Regions from separate parts of the Homo sapiens genome. Here regions 1, 3 and 4 are each linked to region 2. The links are contacts of gene promoters, found by promoter capture Hi-C in blood cells and fetal thymus (Javierre and others, 2016). All regions are on one chromosome and are shown on one strand. The core of a region is centred on a gene start or on the middle of the fragment in contact, and the rest is flanking DNA. Distances in the headings are between cores, read along the strand shown.

The links. Contacts are between HindIII fragments. The CHiCAGO score rates a contact against its expected background, and 5 or more counts as called.
Region 1: the fragment with the promoter of CCDC191 here is called in contact with the fragment with the promoter of ATG3 in region 2 in 1 of 17 cell types (fetal thymus); the score reaches 5.2 in fetal thymus.
Region 3: a fragment that was not itself captured here is called in contact with the fragment with the promoter of ATG3 in region 2 in 1 of 17 cell types (neutrophils); the score reaches 6.0 in neutrophils.
Region 4: a fragment that was not itself captured here is called in contact with the fragment with the promoter of ATG3 in region 2 in 1 of 17 cell types (erythroblasts); the score reaches 5.6 in erythroblasts.

The regions. Positions count from the first base shown.
Region 1 is chr3:114,054,933-114,057,799 of GRCh38, forward strand. It overlaps CCDC191 (coiled-coil domain containing 191), which reads right to left and starts at 1,594. Exons shown (of 17, transcript NM_020817.2): 1 at 1,445-1,594. The coding sequence starts at 1,534. It overlaps QTRT2 (queuine tRNA-ribosyltransferase accessory subunit 2), which reads left to right and starts at 1,805. Exons shown (of 10, transcript NM_024638.4): 1 at 1,805-1,932; 2 at 2,067-2,174. RefSeq lists an enhancer at 1,336-1,745. The HindIII fragment of the contact is 7,070 bases long and covers 699-2,867 here.
Region 2 is chr3:112,560,366-112,563,353 of GRCh38, forward strand. ATG3 (autophagy related 3) reads right to left here and starts at 1,597. Exons shown (of 12, transcript NM_022488.5): 1 at 1,092-1,597. The coding sequence starts at 1,163. It overlaps SLC35A5 (solute carrier family 35 member A5), which reads left to right and starts at 1,680. Exons shown (of 7, transcript NM_017945.5): 1 at 1,680-1,908. RefSeq lists enhancers at 359-1,168, 1,169-1,978. The HindIII fragment of the contact is 1,809 bases long and covers 517-2,325 here.
Region 3 is chr3:113,690,615-113,693,428 of GRCh38, forward strand. The region is part of intron 1 of USF3 (upstream transcription factor family member 3); the gene reads right to left. Among named protein-coding and RNA genes, the nearest start is that of USF3, 4.6 kb to the right of the region's middle. The HindIII fragment of the contact is 3,967 bases long and covers 1-2,814 here.
Region 4 is chr3:113,753,792-113,756,844 of GRCh38, forward strand. The region is part of intron 1 of ATP6V1A (ATPase H+ transporting V1 subunit A); the gene reads left to right. Among named protein-coding and RNA genes, the nearest start is that of ATP6V1A, 8.3 kb to the left of the region's middle. The HindIII fragment of the contact is 6,510 bases long and covers 1-3,053 here.

The sequences.
Region 1 (2,867 bases), core at 344-2,843, 1.5 Mb after region 2:
TTGGAGCACTAAATCTCTTTTGGTTTGGCGTTCCCAGTTCATGAATTGCTTCTTACTCAAATATACTCTTTAAAATAATAATAATAATAATAATAATAAAATAAGGGGATATCTAAACTAGCATACTGACACATGGAGGTGGGAAAAATATAATACTCTTTCACTTACCTAACACTTTACCTTCAAAGCATCTTACTGATAACTAACGCAGCTGTACTGCTTAATAATTTTGTCACTGCAACAAAGAAAGAGCTGATCTAATTAAAATACAACTGAACTTGAAGAAGCCCTATGTTTTTACCTTTTTTTCTCTAGGCAGTAATAATGAGCACTAGCAGCAAAAATCCTTCCTTTTGGAGTCCTAAGAAATTATTCTAAATTTTTACCTTTCATCATCAAGTCCATATCTATATCCTATCTTGGATCCAATACATTATGCAACTGATGTATTGAAATAGCAGCAGCCTCAGTTTCCAAGTCTCCCTGATGCTTCAGTCTGTGCCCTCTAGTATCTAGGGCAACATATTTGTCATGTGGAATATGTCCAATGCATTTAGCTGGTAAATTTAGAATAAATCGCAAGAACAATCGCCTGGGGCCCTCAAAAAGGCCACATACATCTACAGAATATTATTTAGGAAAGTATAACTTAAGGGTGAAAACAGCTGGTGAAACTGCTCTGTAGCTGAAAGCTGAGAAGCTTCTCCATTTTAGTACTCTCATTTAGATTTTAAGCATCTTTTTGGGGACTGTTAAAAAGGTAGTCTGTGGAAAGCACACGGTGCAACTGTGACTTTGCACATGTCACATATGTTTCAAGTTTAAAATGGGGTTATTATTTTTTTCTTATCTTCAGGTGCTAATGCATCCAAATGGGTGATAGATACGGAGAGAATCTATTTTTTGAAAGTTGGTTGAATTTAGAAATTACTATGTGAATCAAGTATTAATGTATTCAATATCCATTTGCACTCCTGAGTTTATTTAGATACTTTACGTAAAAGTGAAGGGGCAGGAATATAGGCAGGGTATTTAATGTGAAGCTCTCTCCCGTTAATAAAGATCAATTACCCCAAGATTTGCAAAAAAAAAAAAAGAGAGAGAAAAAGAAAGAAATGTGCGAGAAGTTTCCTAAAATTTAAGGTAGGGGGAACGGAGTTTGCAAACTCCTTTCACCCCGATGGGCATTAGCAGACACCTCCGGTTTTAGAAAAGCGTTACAAACAGTTCTTCCACGATGCTGCCCACCAAAGCCGTAATGTGCCCAGACCCCAGAGCTCCTAGAGCATTTCACTCAGGGTAATGCTGGCTTTGGGGCGGTCAAGGCAGGGGCGTGTCAGCTCAGGATGAAGAGGCAGGAAGCACAGACGGGCCGCGACTGGCTTCCTGACTGCGCCGCGCCTTGGGAAAGTCCCCGCCCTCCAAAGCTCTCGATTGGGATCACCTTGGGACTCGGCTTCCTTGTGAACCGTTTCCAGCGATTCAGCCCCATCCTTTTCTTTGAGAAGGACCTTCCCTGAGGCGCCAGGAGCATTTTCCAAGTTCGAGCCCGAACCTCGGCCAAAGCTGCAGCAACCGCCCTTCTGCCCGGGCTGCCTCCGGGTCACGCTGGGAATTGTAGTTCCTCCGCCCGCAAGGAAAGCAGGCATAGGACACCGTCGAACCACCACTCCCACGAGGCTCTGCGCAGGCCGCTCGCGTTGGCTCAGTTACCATAGCAACGGCAGAGGTCCCTCGCTCTTGCCGTCATCAAGGCTCGCTTGAATGTCGGCTTTGCTTTTTTTCTGGCGCCCAGTGATGACGCAGTACTCCCTGATTGGCTCTGCACTGGAGGCAGTGATTTTGGGGCAGAGAATTTTGCAACACGTGGTAGTGAACTGTGAGGAGTTTGAGGGGTCTGAAGACTGAAAGAGTCGAATGGTTTGTTGGCAGGTAAGTGCCCCTTTGCCCTGCTGGTGTGGGAGCTGCTAGAGATGGATGAGTCACGTCGCGTCCAGACGCTTCCTGGTTGTGTTGCAGTAACGGTGATTGTACTCCCGCCATGTCTCCTCTGCTTCCCTTTTCAGGGTGTCCTGGTGGATTGGTTTCTGTAAGTTCAGATTCTCATAAATCGTGTGAGCGTCGCCGACACCTCTGAGATAAAAGGGCCCCTTTCGACTAGCCTCTGCTGAAAGGTAGAGTTTTCAGGAAGTTTTTATTCCGAACTGCCCATGGGAGGGTGGGACCGTCTTCAATCTCTGAGCCAGGTGCCTAGGGAGGTCTGGGGCCATGGAGATGGCCCATGGAGCAAAGATAAATCCAGGCTTATTGGCTTAGCCGAGGTGTTTCCAGAGACAGCCCATTTAGGGGTGATAAATGGGCTTATAAAGCAGAGTAAAGATTTAGAACAGGAGTTTTGAATTCAACTACTTTGTGGCTATATGACCCTAGGCAACTTGTTTAATAACTCAGAGACCCTGTTTTCTCATGCAAAATGGGGACGATAATACCTGAATCACTGGAGTGTTGTAATGATTAAAAATAAATGTATGTGAAGCATTCTGCCAGGAAATGTAAACTAAAGTTGATTTGAAATTGGTGAAAATGAAGTTAGGGAAGCTATGCCCTCGGACTGTTGCAGCGATCCTAGGACCAGCTCTGTAACTGGTCTGTCTGAAAGGCGGTTGAATAAATTGTGCTCATACAAACTATGCAGTACCACGAAGTAGTTTTTTTCAAAAGGGTAAGTTAGCTTTATGTCTCTTCTTCAGGAAAGACGTCTAATGTTTATTCTTGAGAGAAAAGCAAATTGCAGAGAAGTGCATATATTATAGTATAATATGTTTCCATTTTTGTAAAAGCAAACCCTGACCAAAACACTCCCTCCC
Region 2 (2,988 bases), core at 347-2,846:
CTCATTTATAATCGCTGGTTTATTTCTTACTTGGCCAATAAGTTATTCTTTTAAAAGGAGCTTTACAAAAACGTATTTTAAAAAGTATAGACCTAGTACTTCCCTTTGTCATGGAAAGGGAGCAAAGCAAAACTCTCCACTATTCTTAGCATATTAAGGTATTTCACCCCCACACTGAGATTGGTACATTCTAACTGAAAGCTTAAAAACAACTAGAAAAAAAAAACAAAAACTAAGCAAGAACTTCCCATTAATTTACTATTCTTGCTCACTTTTCAGAAAGCAAAAATGAAGTTACAACAAAACACTCCAAAAGAGTTATAAAAGAAAAGCTTGAAGGCAGTTGTAGAAATTTACCTTTAAAAAAAAAATCAGTCACTACTGTAACAGCTAATGTGTCACAATTTTTTACTTTAAAAATGCTGTACTGTTGCCAATATATTTTTAAAAATTATACAGCCAGGAAGGTCAAACCGTGCCTTGTTATCACTAATAACCAGCTACGGCTATCTGAAAAGCTTGGGAAAAAGGTTTTGCTCGTTAGATGGGTTCAAGGTTACTGAATGAGATAATGTTGCCAATTTCACCTCCTTCCTCTGAAATCTAAACGAGTTGGGATCGCAGTCACAACTTCCCCACTACAGCGGACTTTCATGAAACTTAAAGGAAAAGTGACCTCACCTCAGGTCTCTTTTGACCTCTGTGTGTCAAACACTAAATTCATTTTTTAAAGAGAAGCAAAATCCTTGCTTAAAAAGGCTAAAAGACTTCCAGTGTTTGGATTTAACGTTCTTCAATCTACTCAGCCTCCGAACACCCTTCCAACCCGACGTACCCGACCGCGCAGAGTTATGACGGGAGAAGGCAGGAACACGCAGAGCGTCGCTCCAAGTTTACCCCTGAGGAGTCAGAAAGCCCTAACGAACAGCCGGTTAAGACTACGGGTGGGGGCTGCACACTTCCCTGTGTCTCGAGCCCTACTGCCTTCCTACACCTTGCCCCGCCGGAGAAAGCGGGGACTCCTGCGGCGCCTGGTCCCTGAAAAGTCGAGCATGTGCCTGACAGCTCCCGGCAACCCTGGCCTGGCTTACCTTGAGGACCGGGGTCAGGTACTCAGCCACTTCCAGTGCCTTTCCCTTCACAGTATTAATCACATTCTGCATCCTGGGGCCGGAGTAGCGGCCGGCCCCGCGACGGGATGGAAAGTGCAGCCGTGTCAGGGGCCAGGGAGTCAGAAAATGTCCTCGCTGCCACCGACTCGCATCAGCACCCGGCTGGCAGCACCCGAGGGGACGGGACGCGACGCGACGGGACGGGCGGGACGAGGGGGCGGGGCGGCAGGCACAGCGCGCGAAGACGGGGTGCGCGATCCTCGCACCCCAGGCAGCCCGCGACGGACCGGACCCAGCTGTCACCCAGCCGCGAGGGAGGGCAGCGGGGCCGAAGGGAGACCTGAGGTGAGAAGCGGACGCACACGCACCCCTCGCCCTCTGCGAGCTGTCTGTCCTCGCTTTGCTTCACTCGCGCCCCTTCCGGCTTCCCTTCCTTCTCACTCTCTTGCCGTAGCTGCGCCGCCACCGGGGCCTCACGTGACACTAGACTCTCCCGGCACGTGACGTGAGAAAGGGGCCGGGCTGGGGCGGGATAAGCCGCTTCTCCCCTCCTTCCGGAAGCGTAACACTGAACGTGCCTGCGCAATGGGTGTCGGGTCCGCTTTTTCCCAATCCGGACGTAATCGTGGTTTTTGTTCTGCAATAGGCGGCTTAGAGGGAGGGGCTTTTTCGCCTATACCTACTGTAGCTTCTCCACGTATGGACCCTAAAGGCTACTGCTGCTACTACGGGGCTAGACAGTTACTGTCTCAGCTCTAGGATGTGCGTTCTTCCACTAGAAGCTCTTCTGAGGGAGGTAACCGCGCCCCGCGGGCAAGGAATTGCGCCTGCGTCTGAGGGGAGGGTGCGCCAGTGAAGAGCCCTACTGCGCATGTGTGACTAGAAGGGTAGTCCCTGACTGTGAAGGGAAATCTGGCCCCCTCCTGTCGGGGAGGCGTCCTGTAGGCGTGCGCCCAATGGGGCTGTCAGTATTGGCATTTCTCCCCACTCCCCGCAGGCTCTATGCGCTATTCCTACAGTACGCTGGGAGGCTTTGGGCAAGTTACTTACCCAACCTGGGGTTTAGTGTCCTCAGCCTATCAAAAGAGGGCCTTAGATTCATTGATTTCTACGATCTCCTCCATTTCAAACACTAACTAGTTCAGTAAAACTTTACAGCAGTGTTTCAGATATTTCCATTTTGGTCGTTATTGTAATGAAGTCTGTCCTAATAAGCTTTTTCCTCCGAGGGAAAAGAGGAGGAAAATACAATTCTGAAAGCCTTATCTTACAGCAAAATTATTTACTAATAAGAGTAAAAGCGAGGCCGGGCGCGGTGGCTCACGCCTGTAATCCCAGCACTTTGGGAGGCAGAGGCGGGCGGATCACAGTCAGGAGTTCGAGACCAGCCTGGCCAACATAGTGAAACCCCGTCTCTACTAAAAATACAAAAATTAGCCGGGCGTGGTGGCGGGCGCTTGTAGTCCCAGCTATTCTGGAGGCTGACGCAGGAGAATCGCTTGAGTCCGGTAGGTAGGGGTTGCAGTGAGCCAAGACCGCGCCGTTGCACTCCAGCCTGGGTGACAGAGCGAGACTCCGTCTCAAAATACATAAATAAATAAAATTTAAAAATAAAATTCAAAATTGCTTTGAAGAATTCTTTTCTGCTGTTGCAAAGTGTCATTTGCTCACCTGCTACCTTTGTCAGCAGGTCTAATCTGGTTCTACGTTTTCTGTCTCCAGAGTACTCCCTCTTATCAGATTTTCACTTTCCTTTTGTCATAGTTTCTTTATGCCTCAACTTTCTTGGTGCTGATATAGTCATAGCCAAAATTTTTTAAAAATTCCTTTTTTGTCCTCACGATCAATGGTATTTGCGTTTAGGGTCTGCCAACAA
Region 3 (2,814 bases), core at 101-2,600, 1.1 Mb after region 2:
TATCAGCTACTTCACTTTATGCTAAATTCATGCTATTTTCCCACTGAAATGACCTTTCCACTTTGCTCTGTTTATCCAAATCCTACCAACCCTTTAAAGTCCGGTGCAAGTCTATCCTCCTATATAAAATCTTCCCTAATATTTCTAGCAAAACTAAACCCTCTACCTATACTCTGGACTCTATCACTCTCGCTACTTAGTAAACTTCTTACATAATGTCCCTTTTCTCTCATATATTATTAATCCCTCCTTCTCTCTTAGTGCCTTTCCATTAAAAATATCCTTATTCAGGGCCAGGCACGGTGGCTCACACCTGTAATCCCAGCACTTTGAGAGGCCAAGGGAGGTGGCTCACTTGAGCTCAGGAGTTTGAGACCAGCCTGGGAAACAAGGCAAAACCCCATCTCTACCAAAAATACAAAAAATTAGCCAGGTGTGGTGCTGCAAACCTGTAATCCCAGCTAATCAGGAGCCTGAGGTAGGAGGATGGCTTGAGCCCAGGAGGCGAAGGTTCCAGTGAGCCAAGATCGCACCACTGCACTCCAGCCTGGGAGACAGAGTGAGATCCCATCTCAACAAAAATAAAAATAAATCCTTATTCAACTTTTTCCATGTAAAAACCTAAACTGATTTTTCTCCTGACCTTGCAACTCCCCACAGGTGTCCCCATTCTTCCTCCCAACCACCAGTCTTCTTGAACAAGTTGTTTACACTTACTACCCCCTCTTCCTCACTTCTTATTCACTCTTCAACCAGCTGTTACCTGACTTTTATTCCTAAAACTGCTTAAACCAAGCTCAACAAAAGACTTCCACACTGCCAAATCCGATGAACTTTGTAATAAATCTGTTGTTTTGGCCTTCTGACAATAATATCCTGCCTTTCCTTCGGAGATCTTCTCTGTCCCATTCCTGAAATCTGATAGGACCATCAAACACAGGCTCACCTCTGGGGTGGGCATGGGGCTAACTAATAAGACTCCCTGCACAAGGAGAATATCTTGCTGAGGCTGAGTTAGCCCCATGGATCCTTATGATCCTGGGAGCTTCTGTTTTCCTGGCCTTCCCAAGCCTTCATTATTCTATCTCCCTTTCTTTCTGTGAGTTTATCCAGTATCCATTTGCTGCTTAGCCAAATTCAATCTCTATTGTTTATAACCAAAGAGAAACTGGTCCCTCAAATGACACAGAGGTAGACAGCGGTGACACTACAATTTCTTCTCCTTATCTCCTTCTCTTTGGTTTCTGCTGTTTAAGGAATTCCTGAGAACTCTTCATTATCCTCTTTAAAGATTTCTCTGACCCCTAGAGCAGTGGTCCCAACCTTTTTGGCACCAGGGACTGGTTTCGTGGAAGACAATTTTTCCATGGACAGGGAGTGGAGCAGATGGTTTCAGGATGAAACTGTTCCATCTATCTCAGGCATTAGATGATCATAAGGAACATGCAACCTAGATCCCTTGCATGTGTGGTTCAGAATAGGGCTCGCACTCCTATGATAATCTAATGCTGCCGCTGATCTGACAGGAGGGTAGCTCATCTCCTGCTGTGCGGCCTGATTCCTAACAGGCCACTTGGGGACCCCTGCCTTAGAGGTTAGACTAAATACCCTTCTTCATACTCCCAAACATCCTAATACTCCACAATGTCTTAACATGAAATACAATCTATATACTTACTAGTTTTCACCACCAGACTATAATAAATGGTAGAAACTTATTACTCCATTACTGAGTGCTAATTATTGAGAATACAAATATGTAAAAAATTCATATTATTCATATTACTGAGAATACAAACATGAAAAAAAATTTCATGTTTGTATCCTCAACAATTAGCACTCAGTAACTGAGTAATAAATGTCTGCTGAAAGAATATCTGGTCTTTCCTTTTTTTTGTATTAATCATTATGTCATAGATTTTACATACTTATGTTTAATTTAGCATCTAATGAATACTCCATTGAGTTCCTTAAACAATCCTAATAAGTCTAAAACGTTCTTATGAGCTGAGTCCACCATTTACTATTTCTGTATTCTCTTCAGTACCTAACAGTGTTGGGCACATGGTAAATAATAAATACTTGGTGAACTGAATTAAAAACACAGTATTAGCACACTAATAGAAACAACTTATCATGTCCTACTGATCTAATTAAAAGATCTGGCCTTCTGAAGTAGTGCAATTGTCCCCATATGGAAATTTTAATGAGAAAAAGAAAAATTATCCAATTGGACAGTTAACCACGTTTCTTTTAGCAAGAGTTCCACAAATATTTTATGAATAATAAATGTATACCTTTACAGCACAGAGTAAAAGACTCAGGACACATATATGCCTGTGCATACTGGAAGGAAGATTACATATTTAAGGGGTCTGTCACAACTACAATCACTTAGATTCTACTAACCTTTAACAAATCTATAATAGGAGTATAGGACATAAAAATATTTAATAGCAAAATCAATTAATGCCAAATCAACTTACGTTCAAGATGTATATGGCTATCTTTTTATAATATATAACATGGCAGTCATTTACTCATTTAAGAACATTTATTAACTGCCTAGTAATCACAAATACAATGTTAGGTCCCAAAAATACAAAGATAAAAAGAACACATTTCCTATGTTAGTGGAGTTCTATTTCTGCCATGTTGCAATGGTATTCAAGAATATGTGAATGGTACCCCCTGGAGTTGCTCAACATGGAGGCCCTGGTTAGCAGTATGGTGGGGAAGGCATATAAACACATACTTATGGCAGTGTGCTAAGTGCTAGCACAGAAACAAGTACAACTGTTACGGGGCCACGGA
Region 4 (3,053 bases), core at 370-2,869, 1.2 Mb after region 2:
TTTAAGCTATCCTCCCGCCTCAGCCTCCAGAGTAGCTGGGGCTACAGGTGTGCACCACCACACCTGGCTAATTTTTTGTATATTTGGTAGAGACGGGGTTTCACCTTATTGCCCAGGCCATCATGTATCTTAAGAAAAAAAAATACAAAGTACAGAGAAACATTTGTAATGATAACTCATTTTTTATAAAACCAGTTGAAAAACACCATGAGTTTTGTATATTTTTACCTGGTTGTCACCGTTGGAAAGAGGAAATAAGCAGAAAAGGAAAGAGACAGAATATCCATAGTAACATATTTATATAAAACTACATGTTTGTACATGTCTGTGTATATGATGGATTATGGGAAACAATGGGCACTAAGATGATTTACTTTCTTCCTTACACTTTACATTATATGTTTTTATTTTTACAGTGGACATGAAGTGTTTCTGTAATTAGGAAAAACAGGCTGGGCATGGTGGCTCACGCCTGTAATCCCAGCACTTTGGGAGGCTGAGGCAGGTAGATCGCTTGAGCCCGGTGTTGGAGACCATCCTGGGCAACATGGCAAGACCCCCCTCTACCAGTAAAAACTAAAAATTAAAAAAATTATTTGGGCACGATGGCATGCACCTGTAGTCCCAGCTACTCAAGAGGCTGAGGTGGGAGGATCACTTGATCCCGGGGCATTCAAGGTTTCAGTGAACTGCGAATGTGCCACTGCACTCCAGCCTGGGCGTCAGAGCGACACCCTGTCTCAAAAGTAAGAAAAAAAAAAAGAAAAGAAAAATGTACCAAAAAATGATAGGGACTACTAGATAGGATTACAAATTTGGCATGTTATTTTTGGTATGGATAGTCAGTGCTATCGACACGCTTTCTGCCTTAGAGTGTAGAGCACATTGCACAAGTGTGGGATCTGTCACCTGACTTAATCATATGACAGAATCATAAGAAAAGTCCCTATTTGGGTTTTGGCATATAAACTGGATTACAAGATTAACTTGCCTTAAGAAAACTTTAAACAAGAACTTCTTTAAAGAAGCAAAATAAAAAGTACTTATAATTGTTTAATACTTGATTTCTGTCCTTTTAAAAGTATCTCCGTAGAATACATCATTCAAAGCCTAGACAGAAAATAGCAGATGCTTTAGAGTTGGATTTGTTGCATACTTAAAGTAGCTGTATTTTTTTCTCACATTGGTATTACTTCCCCTTTTCATTACCAGTTTTATTAATTGCATATATGTGCTTTAATGTAAGCTGTCCAAAGTTTTTTTTACAAGAGTTGGGATATATGTAAATAAAAATAATTTTAGAGTAGTATTAATATAACAAAGAGATGAAGGAAACCAGACTGTGTGAGTCAAATCCTGGCTCTGCTTCCTAGTGGTGTGACTTTGGAGGAGTTACTTGTGTCTTTTTGCATTGCATTTTTCTCAACTTTAAAATAAGGATAATAAGAGTATTTAACTTCATTGGATGTTGTGAATAATAGAAGCGATTGGAATAATAACTAGCACATAAGGACCGTATATATATTTGCCAGCTGGGTGCAGTGGCTCACACCTGTAATCCCAGCACTTTGGGAGGCCGATGCAGGCGGATTGCTTGAGCCCAGGAATTGAAGGGCAACATGGCAAAACCATGTCTGTACAAAAAAAAAAAAAAAAAAAATTAGCCAGGCGTGGTGGCACACACATCTAGTTCCCGCTATTCGGGAGGCTGAGGTGGGAGGATTGCTTGAGCCTGGGAGGCAGAGGTTGCAGTGAGCTGAGATCGTGCCACTGCAGACCCTGGGTGACAGAGCCAGACCCTGTCTCAGAAAAATATATATGTAATAATAATATGTGCTATTATTTGCTCAGTCAATTAGGTGCAATATATAATAGTTTTACTTGGCTCAGTTGTTTTAACATTCATTTACTCATCCAACAATATTTTTAATTCAGTTGAATGGGTAATACATGTACAAATATGGTAAAATTTATATATTCATACAAGTGTGTTTTCTCTCCCCTCATCCTTATTCTTTTCTTCCCCCATATATTTATCCACAAATGGTAGCACCTCTTCGTATTATTCTGGACCTTACATTTTTCGCTTGAGTATTACGTTGGAGATCTTTTCACATTGATACAGTTAAAACTGCCTCATTCTTTTTAATGATAGTTTAGTATTCAATTGTATTAATATACCCTCATCATCATATGTAACATTTATTGAGAGCTTACTCCTGATCCAAATGCTTTCTTAATACTTTAGTTTTATTAACTCATGGAAGCCTCATAACAACCTATGAGATAGGCACTATTTTTCTATATTTAACAAATGAGGAAAACTAGGCACGGGATGATTAAATGTCCAACAGTCACACAGTTTATAAGTGGTAGGGCTCAGGATTAGAGCCCAGGGAGTCACTTTCCAGAGATTGCTGCCATAATACCGCTAAACATGTAGCCTGTCATAGTATTACAAGGTATTTAACCAGCCTCCATATTAATGGACATTCCAATCTTTTGCTTAAGAAACAGTGCTATAGTTAATATTTTGTTAATAGAACATTTTGTACATCTACAATAAATTCCTAGAAATGGACTAGCCATGTCAAAGGTAAGTACAATTTGAATTTTGGTGGGCACTGCCAAATTGCTCTCCAATTTAGGGATGTTCAGAAGTTCACCTTTGTCCTTAGTAATTTGCCAAAATCTGCCATTTAGCTTGGGTCTTTGGAAGGTGTGCTTTTAACATTTCTAGCATCCCTGAATTGTGTGTGATCTACCATCATGTAATAGCTTAAGTTACTATCATATGGAATTAATGTAACAATGTCAGTATGAGAGGTGTGACCTTTGGACTTACTACTTTCAAATAACAGTAAGTATTTTAGATATAACTTGAAATACTCCTTAATGTGATTTATACATTGAAATTCTATCAATCGAAGTTTGAATAGATATTGTTGAAAAAGTAAAATGCTGTAATTGTTAATAATTGTGAAGTTGCTGATTTTATGTACCAAAGCAATTATGTAAGAGTGTTCAAATAGTTAAATAGTGAATCAGATTGC